3 separate regions of the Homo sapiens genome follow, and all the other regions are linked to region 3. Evidence: promoter capture Hi-C in 16 types of primary human blood cells and fetal thymus (Javierre and others, 2016). All regions are on one chromosome and are shown on one strand. Each heading gives the region's core, a stretch centred on a gene start or on the middle of the fragment in contact. The rest is flanking DNA. Distances are from core to core; before and after follow the strand shown.

The links. The method cuts DNA at HindIII sites, captures the fragments that hold promoters and counts their contacts. A CHiCAGO score of 5 or more calls a contact.
Region 1: the fragment with the promoter of JADE1 here is called in contact with the fragment with the promoter of PGRMC2 in region 3 in 17 of 17 cell types (naive CD4 T cells, fetal thymus, M1 macrophages and 14 more); the score reaches 25.4 in naive CD4 T cells.
Region 2: a fragment that was not itself captured here is called in contact with the fragment with the promoter of PGRMC2 in region 3 in 17 of 17 cell types (total B cells, fetal thymus, naive B cells and 14 more); the score reaches 14.0 in total B cells.

Annotation. Positions count from the first base shown.
Region 1 is chr4:128,808,288-128,811,059 of GRCh38, reverse strand. It overlaps JADE1 (jade family PHD finger 1), which reads right to left and starts at 1,360. Exons shown (of 11, transcript NM_199320.4): 1 at 1,183-1,360. RefSeq lists silencers at 428-547, 1,058-1,537 and an enhancer at 848-957. The HindIII fragment of the contact is 6,052 bases long and covers 1-2,144 here.
Region 2 is chr4:128,827,659-128,830,502 of GRCh38, reverse strand. The region is part of intron 1 of JADE1 (jade family PHD finger 1); the gene reads right to left. Among named protein-coding and RNA genes, the nearest start is that of JADE1, 19 kb to the right of the region's middle. The HindIII fragment of the contact is 3,004 bases long and covers 1-2,759 here.
Region 3 is chr4:128,286,448-128,289,147 of GRCh38, reverse strand. It overlaps PGRMC2 (progesterone receptor membrane component 2), which reads left to right and starts at 1,335. Exons shown (of 3, transcript NM_006320.6): 1 at 1,335-1,775. The coding sequence starts at 1,358. RefSeq lists silencers at 40-334, 706-895, 1,216-1,395, 1,406-1,455, 1,636-1,695. The HindIII fragment of the contact is 4,970 bases long and covers 1-2,700 here.

The sequences.
Region 1 (2,772 bases), core at 111-2,610, 520 kb before region 3:
CACAGGCACAAGACACGTGCACTGAAGGGCTCTGCAACTTGCAGTCCCGGGGTACACACTACACGTTCATTTAAGGAAGCAAGGAGACCAAGAGACCCCACCCCCACAATTTGCAGATGGTGCCAAAGGTTGCAATTTGCAATCCCCTTTAAGTTCACGATTAATCGGTACTTTGCTCTACCAACGCCAACTCCTACCCCATTTCATCGATTAAGGGGTTTTACACTTTACAAGCAGTCGCGCTGTAAGTAAAAGATCTGATCACTGGAAGCCCAGTTCGGAAGAATCTAATTGCCAAACTGTCCCTCCACCCCCACCCCCACCCCCCTCTCACTGCCCTTGAATTGATGCAATGAATATTTTGGACATGTGGTGACGCGGTGACAAGAGCCAGGGCTGCGGCCACCACACACAGATGTACCTACGCACACCTATGTTTGGACAAATACAGTCCCACCACACACACGGTCTCACACACTCTGGATTCATATATGTACGCGAACCTGCGTTCTGCCATTGCCATCTGTCTACCAAGTTGCTACTATGCTTTCCACTTTCATGCAGCCTAATGCACTTTGGCTTTCTAAAAAAAAAAAAAAAAAAAAAAAACCTATAAACTAAAGCCAACTTAAACTGGGCTTCTGCTCCTAAACGCGTTTAATTGATGATTCACCTGAAAACCGCATGTTCTTCGCAAATCCAAAAGAAGAAATAGCTCTAAGTCTTCAGCCCCCCAAATTTGAAAAAAAAAATCATAATAAAACTTACTGATCCAACATAGATCAATTCTCAGGATCCAAAAATCATCCTCTCCTCCTCCTCCGGCCCCCGCCCCGGCAATGCCCAAGTTACTGGTGGGATAGTAACGCTGCGCTCAGCGGCTGCCTCCCTCCCTCCTCGCTACAGATCGAGAACCCAATCTTTTGGCGCCATATTAATGACGTATTATATTATTTCCACTAGGCAGCGACCTTCGGCATTAAATTACTCCCGAGAACTCCCGAGCAAAGCAACAAAACCATCAAATATGGCTGAGCCTCTCGGCTCGTCCTGCAGCCGCCGCCGCCGCCGCCGCCGTCGCCGCCGCGGGACCGGGACGCGCACACGGACCCACACGCGGACACGCGCGGACACACGCGCGGCGCGCCCACCCCGCGCGCCCCCCGCGGCCCGCGCGCGTACCTGCTGCGGAGGGGTTCGGCCGAGGCGCTGGGCTGGGCGCCGCTCGCTCGCTCGGAGCTGCATGAGTTCGGGCCGCGGCGGGCGGGGAGCCGGGCGGGCCCCTGCTCTCGCCGGCGCGCACACACCGGGCACTCGCGCACGGAGGCACTCTCGGTCTGGCGTTTGGCTTGTTATGGAGGAAGGACTATGTGAATCAAACTCATTTCTGGGTCACTGCTGCCACAGGGGGGAGCACTTTAATCCCTTGCCAAAACGAGAGGGTGGGGACGGGAGGGCGGAGGGAGCATGCGGGGAGCCCGCGGCGCTGGGGCTCGGTCCCTCGTTAACTCTTCGCAGCCCTAGCCGCAGCCGGCTCAGCCTGCGCCAGTGGGGGCTCGCAAAGAACGGCACTGTTCAGCTCTTAGTCTCTTTCCTTACTTCACCCACCTTGTGAGCCTAGAAATTCTTGAGGTGTCTCCAAGCAAGTGGGTTTTTAAATTAGCCCCTTCAAACTGCTGTCCCAGTTTCAACTCTTGTCTGACATCTAGAAATGGATTCTTTCAGAATAGTTTAAAATTACGTAGATTAAAATATGGCTATTAAGATGTGTCATTTGGGTGAAAGGTTTTATTTTTAGGCTGAGTGGCAAAATAGTTGTTTGTAGTAACAGTTTTAGGGAGTTGCACATTAGGATGACATTTTTAAATAGAGAGAATCCAATTCTGAATAACATCTTTACCTAAATTTGTATGGAAGTGATCATTGCAAATGAGCATTAATTCATTAGAAGATATTATTTATAAATTGACACCACTTTATGTTACACATTACTACAGAATTGGACATCTTCTCCCAAATATGAGGAGTGAGCCTAATGCTAAAACTAGAATTGCAGACTAGTATCAGATCAGTCATCGGAGATTCATTTGGGGGTATTTATGTGTAAAAAGGAGTGGTTACTGATTTTCTGCAGAAGACAAGCTTGCTTTTTCATATAGAGGGCAACATACTTCTTTCATGGATTCATCTAGGGAAATAGAGGGGTATATGACATTCAACTTCAATAAGAAAAAAGTACGGATTAAAAACTCCCATTCAGGCCGGGCGCGGTGGCTCACGCCTGTAATCCCAGCACTTTGGGAGGCCTAGGTGGGCGGATCACCTGAGGTCGGGAGTTCAAGACCAGCCTGACCAACATGGATAAACCCTGTCTCTACTAAAAAATACAAAATTAGCCGGGCATGGTGGTACATGCCTGTAACCCCAGCTACTGGGGAGGCTGAGGCAGGAGAATCGCTTGAACCCGGGAGGTGGAGGTTGTGATGAGCCGATAATGCGCCATTGTGGTCCAGCCTGGGCAATAAGAGCGAAACTCCGTCTCAAATAAATAAATAAATAAATAGGAACAGTGATCACTAATTACAAAATTGAATATCGAACCCAAAAGGCATATGTGTCCACCGGAAGAATCTTTCTGAATATATCAGGTTTGATTTCATGTAATCCCACACCAGCCCAACTACCCACATCCAGACCCACATCCAGAACGTTATAATCTGATAAATGCGACAAAACAAAACTAATTGAGCCTTTCAGTTATTTTTCAGAAAA
Region 2 (2,844 bases), core at 8-2,507, 540 kb before region 3:
CAGCACTTTGGGAAGCAAAGACGGGAGGATCACTTGAGGTCAGGAGTTGGAGACCAGCCTGGCCAACATGGTGAAACTCCGTCTCTACTAAAAATATAAAAATTAGCCGGGCGTGGTGGCAGGTGTCTGTAATCCCAGCTACTTAGGAGGCTGAGGCAGGAGAATCGCTTGAACTCAGGAGGCGGAGGTTGCAGTGAGCCGAGATCACACCACTGCACTCCAGCCTGGGCGACAGAGACCCTGTCTCAACATACACACACACACATACACACAACAATAGAAGTGGGGCACATAGGAATGGTGTGGAGAAAAAAATGTGGAAAACCGGGCTGGGTGTGGTGGCTCATACCTGTAATCCCTGCACTTTGGGAGGCCGAGGTGGGAGGATCACGAGGTCAGCAGTTCGAGACCAGCCTGACCAACACGGTGAAACCCTGCCTCTACTAAAAATACAAAAATTAGCCGTGCGTGGTGGCGCGCATCTGTAATCCCAGCTACTCAGGAGGCTCAAGCAGGAGAATCACTTAAACCCGGGAGGCGGAGGTTGGAATGAGTGGAGATCACACCACTGCACTCCAGCCTATGTGACACAGTGAGATTCTGTCTTGAAAAAAAAAGAAAAATGTGGAGAACCACTGTGATAGAACAAGAAAGCAATTTTAAAAAACCAAAGCTCCACTCTAAAAAGGCCTACAAAAGAGCAGTCAAAAAAGCCTAAACTCCCTTTTCCTTTGACTAGTCACTTCACAATTTATCACCCTCTGTTAAAATTGTATATAAGCCTTCAGGTCTAACTCTTCTTGGGTTTTTTCTCTTCGGTGAAGTCTCCTTCCCTTTACCCACATCTGGCACATAAAAATATCAACATCAGTGAAGTTTGCCTTTTCTCCTGTAATGTCTTTTGTCATTTAATTCAGACTCGCATGAACTGAACCTAAAAAAGTAGATGAAAAGTTTTTCCTATACTACACTTAAAAAATGGATCTACACAATTCATCCAAATATTTAGGTCCCTAATCTATAATTGCAATATTTTATATTTTCTTCCTGAGAAACTCACCCAGTTAAAGTTTTTGTTTATCAATTGATTCTTCAAAAGCCATTAAAATGATGTACCAAGAGAAAGGCTGAACATAAGTCCTGATCAGTATGGGTCATGAGCTATATTATGGACACGCTTTACAAGCTGGGGTTTCATGCTGTAGGCATAGTCAAGTCCTAAAACCCACTCCATCCCTTTTCCAAAAGCCCCACTCACCCATAACCAGGCAATCTGCAACTTGGCCTGGGGTAAGCCCACTCCAGCCCTCAGGTTCCATAACCAAGAAACACCAGTGGTCCACTCCCTATTCAACTGTTTTCTCTGCCCTGTGTGTGCCAAAAACACCAACTGCAGACAGGTAAGCTCTCCAACCTTCTAGAGAATGCACCTCTGGGTCCCCTCAGGATCCAGCAAGAGGTAAAAGGGAAAAGGGAAAGGCAGAAGACCACTCACTCCTAACAGCTTCAGCTCCCCAAAGCCAACATTACAAAAGAGTGCTAAAAAAAATTAGTACTAGGCTGGTCGCGGTGGCTCACATGTGTAATCCTAGAACTTTGGGACGCCAGGGCAGGAGGACTGCTTGAACCTAGGAGTTGAGACCGGAGTGGGCAACACAGGGAGACCCCTATCTCTATAAAAAAATTTAAAAATTAGATTCACCTAACAGAGTAGCTTTTAAGAATCTTTTTGAATCAAAATGCTTACTTTCCAGCTTTCAAACACAACTCCCTGAGGAAGCACTTCAACAGTCACTAAATAAAGAACGCAAGCATTGGCCAAAATACAATGATGCACCTAAACACACATAAATACTCTCTTAAGCAAAATTATTCAAGTAAAAGAAGAGTAAAAATAGTATTTTCTTTCTAATGAAATCCATTTTCATCCGCTGAAGATCTTGAGTAATGAGGGTTTGAGAGTGCTGTATTTGCTTCTCCAGGGAACTTGGCACAGTATGGGGGTTAGTGCTCAGCAGAATTTCCTCCTCTGTGGCTCTAAAGTACTTAAACCTTGACATCAAGCTGATTTATCTCACCCAGGATGACTTACTGTATCAGAAAATCAAAATACATGTTACTATCTTTCAGCTACACAATACAGTGGTTGTATGCTGCAAACATCTGCCCCACTAAAAGCCAGCATCTGCATCATCACCTTTCCTGACTCTCAGGGCAATGGCTAATTACTAATCTAGACAGTAGTAGGATAAGTAATAATCAATTAAAATGGCTACTCACAACACCCCAAAGTAGCAAGAAGATATAATGGCACATAATGCAGCCGACAAACATTTGAATATCTCATATATTAGGAGGTGCTGGATGAAAATTACTAACCCTGACCTCACAGAGCTTCTGGCCTAGTTGGGCAGACAGGAAAACAACGGAAATTCACTACTGTTTGTGCCTGACAGTGGTAAATGCGGAGTTCTACAGGAATACAAAAGGTGGATAAGAGTCAGAGGAGGCTGGTAAGACTGAGCTGAGTCCTGAAGAACAAAGAGGAGGTAGCCAGAAAAAGGGGCATGTTTGGGGCAGAGCACCGTACTTACCAACATATGTGTAACACAGCATATTACTCTGGGTAGCATCTTCATACACATCCATTCTCACCTTATAGCCAATTGCCAAGGTTTACTGATTCATAATGTTATGACTCTCTGAAGTCCCCATATGCCCTGTGGGTTTGCCCTTCAACTACTTGTACCTAGAAAGCTTTAAACACCTATTCTCCAAACTATGATCTCTTCCCACTTCCAATTATTAAAACAACAAATTAACTACACCCCATGAGGCAACCTC
Region 3 (2,700 bases), core at 86-2,585:
TGTTTGCCAACCCCTGCTCTAATGTCTCCCCTAGCTCTGAGTCTCCTCACCTCACGCACAAATACCCTAGCCTACTAACTGCTTTCCCACTCTTTCCCCAGCCTCTAATCCTTCAGACACCTGGTTGCTATACAGCCTCTCTACAAGAGTGTCGACCCTGTCACTTGCCTCGTCAATATCCTCAGTGACTCCTACAAAACCGACAGTGAAAGGTTCAAACCTATTCTATGAGACTCAAGACAACAGACAACAAAGGGCAAGAGAGAACACGTCAAACGAGTTCGTCAAACGAGTTGAGTGCGTGAGACTTCAGAGGTCACTTTTTCACACTAGAATTTCAAGGTGTGAGAGGCTAAAAGACGTCCAAGTACATGAAACAGAACCTGCAAATAAGAGTGAATGACGAATAGAAAGACCACCTCAACCTGTCCACTTCCCTACGGCCGCAGAAGTTATGATTCAAGGAATAATGAGACTCTAAATCCTTTAAAATTCTACAAGAGCAGCCTTTGCCAAACCCAGCGGGGAGTGGCTGCTCGGTGCCAGCGCGAGGAGCACGTAGACTGCCGATGCCAGAGAAGCCCGGTGCGGGTTCCGTGCTTTCTCTCCGTTCCAGGAAGACCCCAGCTCGTGGCCAAATCTTCTTGCCGCTTCCCGGTCTGCGCGCCTACGCTGCCGGTTTCCCGACAAAAGCGACGGCGCCCTGGTGAAAAGCAGACGCCCCTCATCGGTTTGCGCCTTGCAGCTCAACTATGCCCCAGCCTCCCACAAGCCACCTGCCCGCGTCCTCCGCCAGGCGTCCAGCCCGGACCTGCCCCCGCGGCCGCCAAGGCGCACGTGAAGCTCCCGGGCGGGGGGAGCGCAAGGAGGCGGGAGTTTGCGGACGCGAACGCAGGCCTAGGAAGGGAAGCGATTCCAGGGCGCACGCGCAGAGCCTGGAGACTGGGCGGGGCGTGCCTCCCGCAGGGGTTACGAACGAAAGGCGAGCGCGTGGCGCTCAGGAGCCCGCGCACGCGCTGTGGTCTCGCCCCGCCCATGAGCGTCCGCGCGGCCGTCGTAGCATCTTTTCTTCAGACCCGCCCGGCTCGTCTACTTAACCTAGCGGAGGCTTGGAGTGAGAGCAGGGAAGTGTGGGGCGAGGTGGGCGGGGCGTTGCACGCGTGCGCGGCCAGCGAAAGAAGGGAGGGGGCGGGAGATCCGAGACAACGTTACCCCGTCAACACCCAATCAGGAGCCGGCCTGACCCCGCCCCCTCTTCTCACGTTATTGGCTGAGAGGCCCCCAGATGGGCGGGGCCGGCCGTGGGGTTGGGGAGGGCAGGGGGCGGGGAGGAGGAGGAAGGCGCTGGCGGGCAGTGATGGCGGCTGGTGATGGGGACGTGAAGCTAGGCACCCTGGGGAGTGGCAGCGAGAGCAGCAACGACGGCGGCAGCGAGAGTCCAGGCGACGCGGGAGCGGCAGCGGAAGGGGGAGGCTGGGCGGCGGCGGCGTTGGCGCTTCTGACGGGGGGCGGGGAAATGCTGCTGAACGTGGCGCTGGTGGCTCTGGTGCTGCTGGGGGCCTACCGGCTGTGGGTGCGCTGGGGGCGGCGGGGTCTGGGGGCCGGGGCCGGGGCGGGCGAGGAGAGCCCCGCCACCTCTCTGCCTCGCATGAAGAAGCGGGACTTCAGCTTGGAGCAGCTGCGCCAGTACGACGGCTCCCGCAACCCGCGCATCCTGCTCGCGGTCAATGGGAAAGTCTTCGACGTGACCAAAGGCAGCAAGTTCTACGGCCCGGGTGAGGAGTTGGAAGGGGAGGGGAAGGACCCCCTGCAGCTGAAGCACAACCCCCTTCGGACAGGGAGGCCTCTGGGCACCGGGTTAGTTTGCCCAGCCTTCTCGTCTCCGGGACCCCCGCGCCTCGGCCGCCGCACCTGGGACGGCCCATCCCGCCCCTACACACACACCGTCCCCCCGCAGCTACGGGCACCTCCAGTTCTTCCCCCGAAACCAGGGTCCCCGGTGGCGCCCCAGAGACCAGCTCTCAGCATTCATCTTTCTTCCATCCCATTTCTCCTCGCAGCCTTTTTTTTTTGTTTCTTTGGCTGGATTTTTCAAAATCGTTTTAGTTGTCACAGGTCAACGCTGGCCCTTAACCTTTTTTGAGTCTCCTGATTCCTGGGATGGATGGGGCACCAGGGAAGGGAGATTTCTGAAGTTGGGACCTAAACTAAAGTTTTGGGCTCTGTAATTCACCGTTTTCTTTTCCTTGCCCCCTTTTTTTTTTTTTTTGCCACTGATCTCCTTTTTTCCCTCGCTGTATTACTCCGTAAGGCCACGTTTAGGGGCATGTAAAGTCCCAACCCTCCAGTCTCTGAAGTCCAGACGTATAAGCAACACCTCGGACTCTCTTTAAACCAGTTTTAGTTCGGAGTTGCTTTCCATGATTAACAAGGTATGTGGGATGAGAACAGACCAGAATGCAGAGCTTATTAAAGACTGGTAAGGATATTCACCTTGAGTTTTGGGGGTGGAGCTCCTATACCCAGCAGGCGTGTCTCTGGTTTCTTTTTTCTTTTTTTTTCTCTTTTCAAGTACACGTTGATAATGACTTGTGTTTTCACTTAGCAGAACTAAGGAGAAAAAACTTAGAAGAGTTGTAGATTTATACCCCCATGTGCCAGTTATGCAAGTTAAAGATTTTTAGAACTTTGTTTTGAGAG